2 separate regions of the Homo sapiens genome follow, and region 1 is linked to region 2. Evidence: promoter capture Hi-C in 16 types of primary human blood cells and fetal thymus (Javierre and others, 2016). All regions are on one chromosome and are shown on one strand. The core of a region is centred on a gene start or on the middle of the fragment in contact, and the rest is flanking DNA. Distances in the headings are between cores, read along the strand shown. Region 1 overlaps PSMA2 (proteasome 20S subunit alpha 2). Region 2 holds the start of HUS1 (HUS1 checkpoint clamp component).

Region 1 (7,505 bases), core at 1,245-3,744, 5.1 Mb before region 2:
GAAGTCTAGGAAACTAGAAGGGAGAGAAGTTTTTGGTTTATCTGTAACTAGATTCATATACAGAGTAATATAGCAAGTTTCTTTAGTCCCATGATATTAATTTACTTAAAGAGCACCAAAAACCATAAAGTGAGTTTGCTAAAGAATGCAGTTACAATGAGTAGGCCTACCTTTTCTCAAGGAAAGTCTTCCCATTCACATAGTTCTTTCCCATTGCTGTAGCTTTCCAGGCAAAGTAAGCTCCCTAATCAGGAAAGAAAGAGTAAAAAACCATATTTTAAAACACAAATACAATTATATTGCCCTGCCATTTAATTTTTAGCTTTATTAATTGTTCTCTAACTTCGAAGGTCACAGAATATTATTAGAATGGAAAACGTCACAGAATAGGTTATTTTTTAAGAAGGCTAGAAGGATGGAAACCAAAAAGGCATGAAGAAACTTTTGGAGGTTCTGGAAATTTTTGATATCCTCATTGTAGTAATGGTTTCTTCAGGCATTTACATATATCAGAACTCATCAAACTGATGAGCTGGTGATGATGCAATTAAGTGTAAAATTATGTAAAAAATCCAGTTAAAAGAAATTGAGGTTAACTTAAAGCAAATAATCAAGAGTAGTATTTTAGTTTAATAGACTGAAGCGATTTAAAAATCTATCATATAAATCTGAAAAATGGTGATCAACTCTTGATCATTAGTGAATTAAAAAGAGAGCATCTCATTAGAAAAAAATACCAAAAGAAACATAATCCAATATGTTTTAAATGAAAACAATTGTTTTTTAGACACAACAGAGGAAAATAGGACAAAAGATAAAATCAGGATTCCAGAAATGGTGGCTTCTGCTACCTTCTGGAAAGGAAGATAAGAGGGCCTGTCATTTAGCTTTGGAAGCTCAGAGATGGAGTAACAACACTATCAAAGTTCCCAAAATACTTATTTTTCTGATTTAATTAACAACCAAAATATTTTTCTTTTGCCATCTCAGGTTATAAAAGTAGATTATAAGGTTTGCATTGAGTGAACCTGTAATTATCTAATAATCCATAAAACATGAAAGATCATTTCCTAATCTTGAATTTTGTCTTAAGGTTCTCATAGCAAATGGGACAGATGTGGAGTAGTATTATCCATTACAAACACCTTCTATTCAGATACCATTCTTCTGCATTAGAGCAGACAACTTACCCAAGGTACCAATTACACAATCATTTTTGCAAAACACTGAATTCAAGATAAATTAATGTTTTTGCTGGAAAACTCACTCAAGTCAGCCCCAAGATTCAACTGATGGCAAACACTACAACACTGTCCTCCAGATCCACATCTTCAATTGCAGTATTTCCCGAAGTAACAGGTTTAAATACATTTGATAACTATTTCAACAAATCACCCAAGTGTATGAAGTTAATGAACATGGCAAAAGAGGGTAGAACTAATACAGCTTCCTTATCAGAAGACCAAATTACCAAAATTTTAAATATACACACAAAAATGCACAACCTCATACTTTCTAAAGCCCAAGAGAAAAGAAGAAAATACTGCTAAATTGTAAAGTTTTTATGGCTTCTATTTCTGTTAGATATTCAAAGAGCACTTTTAACAAATCCCTCAAATACATTAAATGATACTTACAGATGGATCTGACTGAAATAAATATGGTCGTCCCTCATTCCAACCACAAATAAGTAAAGAAACTCCAAATGGACGAACACCACTGCAGGGAGGAAAATGAAAATTACTTGGCATTTTCATGGTGTTAAAGTCATCCTCAAGAATTTATCAGTACTCTCAAATAAAGCAAATTATCAGGCAAACTGAATTAGACTTTTAAGTTCCTTAGAAAGTATTTAACACCTTTCTGAATGAATCAATTCAAAACTAATTCTCTTTATGGTAGTGAGGAATGGTAGCCAAATAAAAAAAAATTTGAATTGAACAGTGTTACCTAAGACACTGGGGTTAATAAGTGTGTAGTAACATTTAGTGTCCTAATAAAATGACAACTTTCAATTAATGCAGCTTTTCCACTAGGTTTACCTATTACAAAATGACAACTTTCAGTTAATGCAGCTTTTCCACTAGGTTTACCTATTACAAAATGACAACTTTCAATTACTGCAGCTTTTCCACTAGGTTTACCTATTACAAAATGACAATTTTCAGTTAATGCAGCTTTTCCACTAGGTTTACCTATTACAAAATGACAACTTTCAGTTAATGCAGCTTTTCCACTAGGTTTACGTATCAACAACTACCTATATGCTATCTCATCTACACCCAAACTTAAGAAACTGGGGAATGAAAAGAAATATGAATACGTCCAAGAGCTGCTTTCATCATGTGCTTACCATCATTTCTGGTTAGAAAGATAAATTTGAAAGTAGCGGCCAGGCACAGTCCCAACACTTTGGGAGGCCAAGACAGGCAGATCACTTGAGGTCAGGAGTTTGAAACCAGCCTGGCCAACATAGTGAAACCACATCTCTACCAAAAAAATACAAAAAAAAAAAAAAAATTAGCTAAGCATGGTGATGCACGCCTGTGGTGCCAGCTACTCAGGAGGCTGACGCATAATTGCTTGATCCCAGGAGGCAGAGGTTGCAGTGAGCCGGGATCATGCCATTGCACTCCAGCCTGGGCGACAGAGTGAGACTCTGACTCAAAAAAAAAAAAAAAAAAAAAAAAAAGAAAAATTTAAAGTTGCAATGATTGTCTGTCCATAAAGTGTTTTAATCACTGGCAAAAGAACTTTGTATATCTAGAAGCTGCTTTCTGCTGTTACATAAGCAACAAGAAAACACATTTTTTTCCTTAAATAAATACTCCAGAGCCAGATAAGATCAGAAATATTCATCATAGTGATTCTGTCCACTTGTTAAGCAAATACAGAAATGGTAAGTCCCACTCTATTTATATACCTACTCTTTAAAATAACTTCCCCCTACAATTCATGGCACATTTCAAGTAAAAAAAGCAACTTACCCTGACTGAGTATATTCTTGCATCACAGAAGCTACTCTCTGTACCAGCTGAGCTGTAGGAATGGGTTCTTGGTACACAAGATAGTATTGTTGAGCTAGTTTTCGAGCTCTGTGCACAAGCACTCTAACAAGGAAAAAATAAGATTTAATTACACAGAACATGCTCTACTACCTGAAGACTCATTCTCCTTTTACAGGCATGTACCTGCAGCACAAGTTTAACATGTATCTCTTTAATGGTGGCTATTGGATCAAAGCTAGTCTTACTCTAACACTGGATTCCAGTTGATATAGAAGAAAATATCAGAGCATCAGAGTACCAGTTAGCTTAAAAGTAACAGATTTAATGTACAAAAATGAGAACTTTATCTTGCTCCACGGCTTCTTCAAGACTGTACCCCCATCCAAGGGCAGCCGCTTGTCTTTTTACAGCTCACCCCAGCCCACACACACAAGCACACATAAACACACAGGCACACAATTCTGGGCATATTTTTCTCACTTCAGGTCACTACTTTCTGCAGACTGTTTCAATCTCTCTGCCTGTGCTTCACGGAGTACCCTTCAGAGATTAAGAAACAGTAAGAAACTACTTGTAACTAAAAATGTAAAATTCGGCTAGGTGCAGTGTTTCACGCCTGTAATCCCAACACTTTAAAAGGCTGAGGCAGGAAGATCACTTGAGGCCAGGAGTTTCAGACCTGCCTGGGCAAGACCCTGGGTTACTTTAAAGAGAATAACTCAGATGTGAAAGAGGAGGGAGATAGAGTACATAACTCCTCTTTTCTCTGTTTAATGGACTTTCCTTTCTGACATATTCCTCTTCTACTATACAGGAACTGGGCATAAGGCTTTAGTTTTCTCCAGTGCAGTTTAAAATGATAAAAGCAATACCCAGCATGACCCTGTCTCTTAAAATTTTTTTTCAGAAGTAAAATTTGTCAAAAGAGATTAAGAAGATATTATATAACAATCAAATATATTAGCAAGACAAATAGGATTTATCTTTGCCAGCTCATATACTACTGATCTGAAATATGCACATTTTCCCTCTGTGTGACAGTCATGTCCCATCCCTCAGTTTATCCTATCAGTGGCAGCACAATGCAGTATCCAGCCTATATAGTGGTGACAAGATTCACTGCCTGATCACATTCCACTGACCTTGTTGCGTTGATTCACTGAAGTGAAACTTTGCCTCTACCTATCTTGCTCCACAAAATCATGAGCAATAAAGTAATACTCCTTTTACTTGTTTAAATGACAGACACAGAAAGCTGTCAATCTCTTTCAACTTGCTGGTACCCTGAGTAACAAGATTATTCTCTCTTCCTGTGAAATATAAAGGGGGTGATTACACAAGCATTGGGATCCTGGTTGGCTGCCACACTCAACAACTTGCAGTGGTGTTTGAGAATTTTGTTCCTTTGTGAAGAACAGGAAAAAAGATAACTCTGGATAGTGATACTTTCTTTTGTTGCCTCATACTTTTTAAAATATAGTTTATTATAACTTAAATTGCTTTTATCATTTTTAAACTGCACTGGCGAAAACTAAAGCCCTTACGCCCAGTTCCTGGATAGTAGAAGAGGAATATGTCAGAAGAGAAAGTCCGCTGAACAGAGAAAAGAGGAGTTATGTAATCTATCTACCTCCTCTTTCACATCTGAGTTATTCTCTTTAAAGTAACCTATACAGGCAAACTAAATTCAGCTCTCAACGAGGCTGCTATTGCTAAACAAAGCACACAAAAAAAGAGGAACTGGAAGATTAAAGGAAAACAACCTTGGTTTTTCTCCTGAAAATACAGATTACAATCAATTCATGAGATGGTGAGAAACACTATAAAAAGTATAAAGTACCTGTAATCGGGGCCCATGCCACTGTACACCAAACCTATATGCTTGGTAATTGGTTCTACTTTGTGTACACTTCGCTCATCATACAGAATGGATTTCTGTTTTTTCTCAGTTGCTAATACCACACCATTTGCAGCTTAAAAAAAAAGAGAGAGACATAAATGTTTAATCATTTTTAAGACTGTTTTAACAGCTTTCTAATTATGGATGCGCTAAACGCAAACTCCTTTATTTCCTTTAATTTATAAAACCTTTTCTTCCGGAGTCCTATTACCAAAATTACCTAAGAAATGGTAAGTCAGTTTTTCCCTCACTGGTCATTTAGTACTACACAAAAAAATCCTCCCTACAGCTAAAGGTATTACATAAACTTTTGTAAAGCACTCTAAGGATACCTGAGAGTTCACATGTTTTAAAATAAGGGATTTCTGTCTACTTGTCCCAATATTCTTATAACATGAAATTTACAATAAATGATACAGGCTTTTAAAGTGAAACACAACACATTTAGCTTATGTTTTATAATTAAGCTTTCCTAAATTATAAGGATAAAAACTGCCAGGAAGTAGTGATATAATCAGTGGAAAAACAAAAAAAGAACTCAGTTTTCTGAATGAGAAAGACTATTGTGAATATCACAACTAACAGATAAAGGTGTTACTATTTACTTTGAAAAGAAATTTGAATGACCTTAGACTTATTACTATTTAAACTCCAAAACACTGTAAATTAACAAAAAATTGTTAAAAATTATACTGCTGCAGCTCTGTATAAATTAATTACTAATGAATTCCAAAATAATTAGGATAACTACTAACAGGCATCTGAAATGAATGAAGCATTTCATTACCTTTAATTCCCACGGACGGGGCTCCTCCAGCTACAGCAGCCAAAGCATATTCAATCTGGACAAGTTTACCAGACGGGCTTAAAAGAAACACAGGTATTTGTAAGTTCACATATCATCAAATATTTATTGTAAGAACATCTCTGAGATAGTACAGACATACAGGTCAAATCCAATTTATCCAACTCCAGGGAGTAACTGGCCTTTGACCTCTATCATGAAGTGGCACAGAAACCAAGTTTACAGCTGGGCGCAATGACTCAAGTTTGTAATCCCAGCACTTTGGAAGGCCAAGACGGGTGGATCACCTGAGGTCAGGAGTTCGAGACCAGCCTGACTAACATGGTGAAACCCTGTCTCTACTAAATATACAAAAATTAGCCGGGTATGGTGGTGCATGCCTGTAATCCCAGCTACTTGGGAGGCTGAGGCAGGAGAATTGCTTGAATCCGGGAGGTGGAGGTTGCAGTAAGCCAAGATTGCACCATTGCACTCTAGCCTGGGCAACAAGGCCGAAACCTCGTCTCAAAAAAAAAAAGAGAAAGACAGAAAGAAAGAAACCAAGTTTACAAGGCAATTGGAACATACTCCTACTGAAGCACTACTTTCTCTTTGGTTGTTTTTTGTCTGCCACATGGAGCAGTGGTATTACTGTTGCTTCTTTTCACCCTAAGTTTTCTATGCCTGTTTTCTCACCTGTAAAATGAGGACACAGTAACCACAACTGGTTTTCCGTATCAGTGGATTCCACAGGGCTGACTACAGGACTTGAATACGCCCTCACTTGGTATTTGTGGGGGTACTGAAATCACCGTCCCCTACAAGTGTCCTGTACCTATTTCAAAGCATTGTTGTGATTAAGTGAAGTAATTCCTATAAAACTGTCTGGCATAAAATCAGTAACAAGCACATACTGAATAGTAATGTTATTAAGAACATGTATGTGTCTGTTAAAAACCAAACAGCAGCACATATTTCAGGTCGGAGGGTGGTTTTAGAAAACAGACATGGCCTAAGACAATAAGACCTAGATATCACTCACAATTAAGTATTCTCTATATAATATACAACTATTTCTAGAAGTCATGAGATGGTCACACTTAACAGATCTGGTTCCATGGATTTGGTAGCTAAACGCAAGTCTCAAACTGGCCTTTTAAAGTTATCCTTTATTTCAACCTAGTTGTTTAAATGGAATCATCATAAACCAACCTAATTTCATAGATAAAGTCTGAGTGAAAGTAATTTGTCCAAAGTGACACAGCTAGGTCCTTATCTCCCGTCTACTAATGAAAATATAAATTTCAGAAGGCCGTATTTTCTCTTCATATAATTACGAATATTCCCTTGGTCACTCAAATCTCAACTCCATCCCTCCTTGCTCCAAACACATAGACTACTCTCAGACTTCAAACGCCTCATTGACAAGCTAATCCCTCCATCTGAAATGCATTTCTCTATTGCCCTGTGAACTCCTTTCATTCAATCATGTCCTAAGGGAAGTTGCCCTGAACCCTCAAGATTAAGTTGAATACCTATTCACTGATGCCTGTGATGTCCTGCACTTCCTCTTTGTCTAAGATTCATCATATCTGAATTGTTATTTTTTTTTTTTAGTAACAGGGTCTTGCTATGCTGCCCAGGCTGGTCTCAAACACCTCGTCTCAAGCAATCCTCCTGCCTCGGTCTCTTTATTATTTTTACAATATTTGTCTTCCTCAATAAAGTAGCTATGTTCAGTCAGGATTCCAGCACATAACCTAATACCAGGAATCCACAATCATTTGGCTGACAGAGACACATCTAGACCAAT
Region 2 (7,853 bases), core at 4,422-6,921:
AGCCTGACAACTGGATCAGCATCACTGCAGTCACAGGTGACACCAACGTCAGCACAGTGCACACTGCTTCATGGAAAACAGATTTTATAGATTAAGTTATGAAGGAAAAGCTTTGAGTTACCCAGGTCCAATGACAGCATTGCTCTTAGTGTGCAGAACTCTAGAAAAAAACAGTCAAATGTACATTTTCTAGGCTTCAAAATACTTTTGTGATTTCAAAGACCTCTTGAAGCTAAATTTTGTTCCAGATCCATGCAACACTTATTGCTGCCTACTGAGTGGCAATCCCACACTGGGCAGCTGGGACACAAAGATGATTAAGATGGGGTTTCCTTTATCAAGAAGCTGGTGGTTCACGAGACCTTCAGAGATCTTAGCAGGTGATTTACCATGTACACTGGACAGCTCAGCTCCATGGAGGAGCTTCCAGAGGGGTGGTGGGGAAAGGTCTGTGATGAAGCATGAGAATGGCTAAGTGCCTTCCAGGGAGATGGAGAGAAGAAGCCATGTGTCAAATGGCAAAGAAACTGAACAAAAAAGAAGAGGCATTGTGGGGGAATACCAGAACCCAGCCTCGTTCTGCAGGGAGGGTGTGGCAATACAACAGAGATGTGGCTATAAAGGTGGCCTGGTACACTGTCAAGATCAAAAGTTTATGCTTCATCAGGTGGACAGTGGTTTTTAGAAGATTCAGGGACATAACCAAGGGTGTTTTTTGGAGCAGGATAGGAGGGAGCAGGGGGAGGAGGGAGGGGCAGTGAGTGAAGGAAGAATTCACAATAACCCCAGGTATGAATGAGGATAACCTACACATTTCCCACCACTGTCACACACTGTAACATTTCGAGCCATGTGGCCATAGGAGACTTCCACAAAATAAACAGAAAATAAACAGAAATATAAAAGTGCCCCCTAGCTTGGTGTGAGGTGTGCTTGGAATAAAGGCTGCTATGGTGTGGCATATCTTTGTCCCTGGCTCACTGAAAGACACTTGGCACGCAGACAGGAAACTCCAAACTCACTGTCAGTCATATCAGTGACTCACAGAAAAATACGGGCACGTTAGCAGGTAAAAGATACAATGTTCCAGCCGGGCGCGGTGGCTCACGCCTGTAATCCCAGTACTTTGGGAGGCCTAGGCGGGCGGACCACGAGGTCAGGAGATCGAGACCATCCTGGCTAACACGGTGAAACCCCGTCTGTACTAAAAATACGAAACAAAAAATTAGCCAGGCATGGTGGCAGGCGCCTGTAGTCCCAGCTACTCGGGAGGCTGAGGTGGGAGAATGGCATGAACCCGGGAGGCGGAGCTTACAGTGAGGTGAGATGGCGCCATTGCACTCCAGCCTGGGCGACAGAGTGAGACTCTGTCTCAAAAAAAAAAAAAAAAAAGAAAGATACAATGTTTCATACAAAATATAAGAGGAAAAACAGGCAGATTAAAGGCAAATATAAAAGCTTTCCTCAAAGAATTAGAGTTGAAAAGTATTGGAATAGGTTTCTAAATCCAACTAGCAATCTGCAGGTTCTCAGCACCAGGCCAGGTCCTCATAAGTGGGAACTCGGTTAGGAGGTGCCCACCTGCATGGACTGCTGCAGGGTGAGCTGGAGAACCCACGCCGTCCCACCAAATACTTCAGAGTTCTTTTCTAAAGAAGTTGTGACTTACAAGGTGATTGCTGATGTTTTTCATTTTTTCCACAACACTCTTCATAGTCTTCAAGACTGGTAAATAAATACTAACCTACAAAACCAATGAGAAAAAAGCACAAGTATTAAAAATATTAATATACTCTAGTAATGACAAGGGCCCCATAACTAACTCTAGAACACATGCATGCTCAAAAACTATGGGATACTATTTTACAATTTTCTGAATAAAGTTCTTTTAAAAATATAAAAAGAAAACCAATTCTATTTCACTAACTCAAGGATGCTCAAGCAAAATTAAAGAATGGAATGCCTGCCTCTGGTTACCTCAGCAACCATGTCCCTGTGGGCATTCTTTTGGCTCAAGAAGGAATAGGGTACTTCAGCTGAGATGCCCCTATATTGGTCCAGGGGGAATATAACTCAGGCAATCAGCAGGAGGCCCTCCTCTAAGGGACATTTACACCTATGATTCAAGGGCCTTTTCCATGCTCTGTACAAAAACATGGCAGACAGTCACTGCATCACATCTGAGACTGTTACCAAGAGTGCTCTATAAAACACAGGCTTTTTCAAAATCAGTGTAGGTGCCATCTAGTAAAAGTCAAGTAATTATTTTACCCAGCATATTTCTGTACTTTCTTCTTAAACAAATTGTGAGCAAGAGGAAATGGGCCCTTTGGCATCATCTTTACTTTCAGGAGCTCTAGGGTTAACCATCGGCATGACCGTTACCCCATGTTAGCCCTAAGCCATGAAATTCTTCTCTTCTTGGCTTTCGTGCACATCCAGATATCGCTCCTGACCGGCTGAGGAAAAGATCAAGTCCTGTGAAACCCAAATTGGTGTCTAAGGCCAAGAATACTAATAAATACTAATTGTCCTCCAAAAGTATCATTTGTGTTTTAAGTGATGTTACTGAGCGAGACATTTTCTACATATAGGATGGCATGACATTTCTATCATATGCAACATTTTTAAGATGCTTTATGTAAATAACAAAAGGCAAATAATCTAATGTTTTCGTTAAGTATCCTTTAAAAATAAAATATACTGCAAGACTACAACTAAAACTAGAGAATTCAAGTCATGCCATTTAATGTGGGGTGTACAGCAGGACTGCAGGCATCACCTACATCAGGATCTGGGACCACCGGTTCTTGTAAGTCCTTCCACAATTTCCTAGGAATCACCTTTATGGGGATGTCATGGGTCACAATGCGGCTACTGCTTGACATAGATAACTGCCAAGAAAAGAATTTAAAAATATTTTTATGTTGTTAATATTAAGCAACAACAAAACAAACCCGAAGACCCGGGACAAAAAAGTTGAAATACCAAATCTAAGTGGAATGCTGTCAGTTTATTCACTCAAAAGCCATTCGACCAATATTGATGGTGCCAATATTTATGGAACAGACTCTGGGTACTTCCAGGAACTGGGAAGTGTGGTGATAAGACAAAAAGGTCCTTAGTGTTCCAGTGGAACAAACAGATCAATAAAAATGCAAACAAATGAAACTGTATGAAATGCTCATTATAGCCGTGAGAAAGCACTCCACAGAGACCAGGGTGAGTGTGGGGGAGTTTCCTTAGACTGAGGAGGTGACATTTCAGATACCACCAAAAGCAGGAGAAGCAGCAGCCATGGGAAGACAAGAACAAGGGGACAGGGTTTCAGGCTGGGGAAACAGCACATGTAAAGCCGTGAGGCAGAAAGAAGCAAGCCTGCTATGTTGACGCAACCAAGAGAAGGCCATTCTTTGGGCATAGGACACTCAGAGTGCTGCAGTTTCTAACAGTTAAAAGGCAAACTATATTTATTTCTAGGGGCTCCTATGAGACTCACAGACCAAAATATCTTGCACTTTTGGACAAAAAGTATTATACGTTACTATCTTGCTTTTCCTTAAGCAATAGAAAAAACATACCAAACTTATACTGTGACATGAAATGCCCTAATTAGCTCTGAGAACTGCCTGACTGCAAAGAGTTGAGAGTTATGAAGAAAAGCTGGGCTGGGCGCCGTGGCTCATGCCTACAATCGCAGCACTTTGGGAGGCCGAGGTAGGTGGATCACTTGACGTCAGGAGTTCGAGACCAGCCTGGCCAATATGGTGATACCCCGACTCTACTAAAAAAATACAAAAATTAGCTGGGTGTGGTGGTGGGTGCCTGTAATTCCAGCTACTCAGGAGGCTGAGGCATGAGAATCGCTTGAACCCGGGAGATGGAGGTTGCAGTGAGCCGAGATCGCGCCACTGCACTCCAGCCTGGGTGATAGAGAGACTCCGTCTCAAAAAAAAGGAAATACGAACCTCATTCTATGAGTAGGAAGAGCAACTCTGGATTGTATGTATGCGCATGAGTTTGTGTATTTGTGTGTTTGGAGGACAGCTGTGCACTAAATTCATCTGGCAGTAGCATATAAAACATACGTGTACTGAAGAACGAGGGGCCATTTAAAGGTTATTATAGCAGATGAGGCAGGGTGGGAGTGGGGAGAAAACATGTCAAAGGTGAAAATGGATAGAGAAACCATGATTTCTAGACAAGGTGACAATACCACTACAAGAAACAGAGAGGCTGGAAGTTTCACGGCTTGGAAAAAGCAGCATTCTAGCTGAATGCATATGATAACAACACAATTTTAAAATGAGGAGGAACTGACTCTAATGCAAAATATAGTTATGGACCAGATCTTTAAATTTAAATAAACCAAACAGCTTTCAACAGTATTTATTGTTAAAAAGGCTAGGCTAACTATGTCTATTCCTTCGAGGCCAAGACTTCTGTGTTAGAAACCCTGACTCTCCTACTCACCAGCTCCACGGAGACCGTGAGGCAGGGAAAGTGTTTATTAGTCAGTTTGATTTTCAAAGCCCTGGCATTCTGGGCAGTCTTCAAGGCTCGAGATAAGTTTTCCGATGTTAGCTCTAAATAAATCTCATTGTTTTCTGCAGAGACACCCTCCATTTGAAATTCGTTGAAGAAGTTCTCCTAAGGGAAAAAAAATGAGGGATGAGGGAGGGTATATGTGATCTTTCCAGTGACAATCTGCAGAGTGTGCAGGCCTCTCAGAAGCTTTTGCTCACCTGTTCCAGCTCACACCACATGCTCACTCCTCCATTAGCCAGCTTGTCACAAAGGATGAAGTTAAGCTTATCAGGGCTGATGCGGAGGGTGCAGGTTTTGGCAAGCTTGGCTATCATGTTACTGATTCCTAAAGCAGGGGTTAAAATAAGGAATTACTAAAATGCACATTATGTATCCTAGAGACCAACTTATTTTGCAGAATTTCTTGTTCATCAACTTCTCGGTGGAAAAATAACCACTTAACGTTGGTATCACACTGGAAAGTACTTTAATACCCCTGATGTCACGCAATTCTCCCAACAAACTAGGGGAGATGTACAGCACACATCATCAGTGTTCAAATAAGAAAACAGGCACCTACCAGTCATTCATTCATTCAACATGGATTTATTGACTACTAGGTACTGCAATACACAGTTAAATGCAAGGTTAGGCACTGTCAGGGTGGAGGGACGAATGGGGCCTTGAAGGTATGTCAATGCCTGATAAAGCCGTCTATGGGAGCAGTGGCCGCTTTTTTTTAAAGCCACGTGATCGGAATCAAGTTTCAGAAACGTCCCTTGAAAGCCGCCTTCATCCCCACAAGTGCCCTCCGACCCGCCCCGCGCCCTCCCGGCCCCACCCTCCCGCGGCCTACACCAGCACCCCCATCCCGGCCCCATCCTCCCGCGGCCCCTTCCGGCGCCCATCCCCGTTCTGATCCTCCTGCGCGGTCCCCACCGCGCGCTCACTGCTTCCTTCCGTTCCTCCCTCGCTCCTCTCCGGCCTCCCTGCTCACGTGTGAAGTGGTTCAGACAGGCCCCGTCCACGATCTTGGCCCGAAACTTCATGGCCGCGGATGGCGCAGCCGCGGCGGGCCTCTGTGGGTAACAGAAAAGCGTCGCGCCCTGAGTGTCCCCGCCCGGAAACACGGCAGCGCGAACAGTGGTTCCGCCCGGCTCGGGCTACGCGACTCTTACCAGGGTTATCTCCGGGCCACGCCCCGGAGGAGGTGGGGCTAGGGGGTCACGCCCTAGAGGAGGTGGGGTCACGGGTCAAGGATCACAGGTCACGCCCCGGGGGAGGTGGGGGTCCCAGTCTCCGGGTATGCCTCCGCGCTGCCGGGTAATGGTGGGATCTACTTTTAGTGAGGCGGAGGCTTCAAGCCCCAGATTCGGGGAGGTTGTTCTGAGAATTCACGTTTTGAAAGAATTTTGTGACACCTATTTCAAGTGTTATTTTAAAATATCCAAATAAAATTAATCGTTTATAAAGGTTAAACAATATTATCTTAAATATACCTAAGGTAGAGCAGCTTTAAACCCTCCAGCCTCAGATGACGGTACTGGTACTTTGGTATTGAAGCATCTTGGTGGATTAAGGTTCTGAAAATTGTTTCAAATGACTTCTAAAAAAATTGAACATATTACTGGCTAGTTGGTAAAGTCGGGAAGCTTAAAGAACACTGACGTTAAGTGATAATTCTGCAGTTTGCCTCAAGACGAACTTTATTACATCCGATAAAATTCTTATTAGCATAAATAATGTCATTAGGATTTTTTTTAAAGGAAAAATTTTAAAGGGGGAAATGAAGCAACAATTGTATCTAATTTGGTTTTTCAAAGACTAAAGATTATCTGTGTTAACAATTGTTATTTTTAATGTCCTTTGCAAATAGACTAGAACCTTGTCTTTAACTTGACACATAGAATCAAGATAATGATAATGCAGATGATGATGATGATGATTTTGAGACGGAGTCTGGCTCTGTCGCCCTGGCTGGAGTGCAATGGCGTGATCTTGGCCCACTGCAACCTCCACCTCCCGGGTTCGAGGGATTCTCCTGCCTCAGCTTCCCAAGTAGTTGGGATTACAGGCACAAGCTACCATGCCCGGCTAATTTTTGTATTATTAGTAGAGACGGGGTTTCGCCATGTTGGCCAGGCTGGTCTCGAACTCCTGACCTCAGGTGATCTGCCCACCTCGGCCTCCCAAAGTGCTGGGATTATAGGCGTGAGCCACCGCGCCAGGCCCAGATAATTTTCAAAGACACATGCACACATATGTTTATTGTGGCACTATTCACAATAGCAAAGACTTGGAACCATCCCAAATGTCCATCAATAATAGACTGGATAAGGAAAATGTGGCACATATACACCATGGAATACTATGCAGCCATAAAAAAGGATGAGTTCATGTCCTTTGCAGGGACATGGATGAAGCTGGAAACCATCATTCTCAGCAAAATATCACAAGGACAGAAAACCAAACACCGCATGTTCTCACTCATAAGTGGGAGTTGAACAATGAGAACACATGGACACAGGGAGGGGAATATCACACACTGGGGCCTGTTGGGGGGTGGAGGCCTGGGGGAGGGATAGCGTTAGGAGAAATACCTAATGTAAATGATGAGTTGATGGGTGCAGCACACCAACATGGCACATGCATACCTATGTAACAAATCTGCACGTTGTGCACATGTACCCTAGAACTTAAAGTGTAATAATAATAAAAAGGTGCAAAATACAAAAATTGCAGTTTTTGCCTATTTTAAGACTATAACATGAAGCAAAATTCTAATCTTCATTGTCATATGCGAGTGTTTGCCAAACCAAACTTAATAGATCACTTTCAAAGTTATGCCAACAGGCAGGGCAGGATGGCTCTCTCCTGTAATCCCAGCATTCTGGGAGGCCGAGGCGGGTGGATCATCTGAGGTCAGGAGTCTGAGATCAGCCTGGCCAACATGATGAAACCCCGTCTCTACTAAAAATACAAAAATTAGCCCGGCGTGATAGCTTGTGCCTGTAATCCCAACTACTCAGGAATCTGAGGCAGGAGAATCACTTGAACCCAGGAGGCGGAGATTTCAGTGAACAGAGGTCTGCCACTGCACTCCAGCCTGGGCGACAGAGCGAGACTCCGTCTCAAAAAAAAAAAAAAATGTTGGCATAACTCTTTTTTTTTTTGGAGACGGAATCTCGCTCTGTCGCCCAGGCTGGAGTGCAGTGGCGCAATCTCGGCTCACTGCAAGTTCCGCCTCCCGGGTTCACGCCATTCTCCTACCTCAGCCTCCCGAGTAGCTGGGACTACAGGCGCCCGCCACCACGCCCGGCTAATTT

What was found. Contacts are between HindIII fragments. The CHiCAGO score rates a contact against its expected background, and 5 or more counts as called.
Region 1: a fragment that was not itself captured here is called in contact with the fragment with the promoter of HUS1 in region 2 in 3 of 17 cell types (total CD4 T cells, fetal thymus and naive B cells); the score reaches 9.1 in total CD4 T cells.

Annotation. Positions count from the first base shown.
Region 1 is chr7:42,921,688-42,929,192 of GRCh38, forward strand. PSMA2 (proteasome 20S subunit alpha 2) reads right to left here. Exons shown (of 8, transcript NM_002787.5): 2 at 5,696-5,772; 3 at 4,849-4,981; 4 at 2,988-3,110; 5 at 1,638-1,719; 6 at 171-244. Among named protein-coding and RNA genes, the nearest start is that of PSMA2, 6.7 kb to the right of the region's middle. The HindIII fragment of the contact is 5,758 bases long and covers 1-5,373 here.
Region 2 is chr7:47,973,944-47,981,796 of GRCh38, forward strand. It overlaps HUS1 (HUS1 checkpoint clamp component), which reads right to left and starts at 5,672. Exons shown (of 8, transcript NM_004507.4): 1 at 5,525-5,672; 2 at 4,746-4,873; 3 at 4,474-4,650; 4 at 2,787-2,894; 5 at 1,670-1,744. The coding sequence starts at 5,576. RefSeq lists silencers at 5,193-5,242, 5,323-5,382 and an enhancer at 5,453-5,742. The HindIII fragment of the contact is 1,329 bases long and covers 4,849-6,177 here.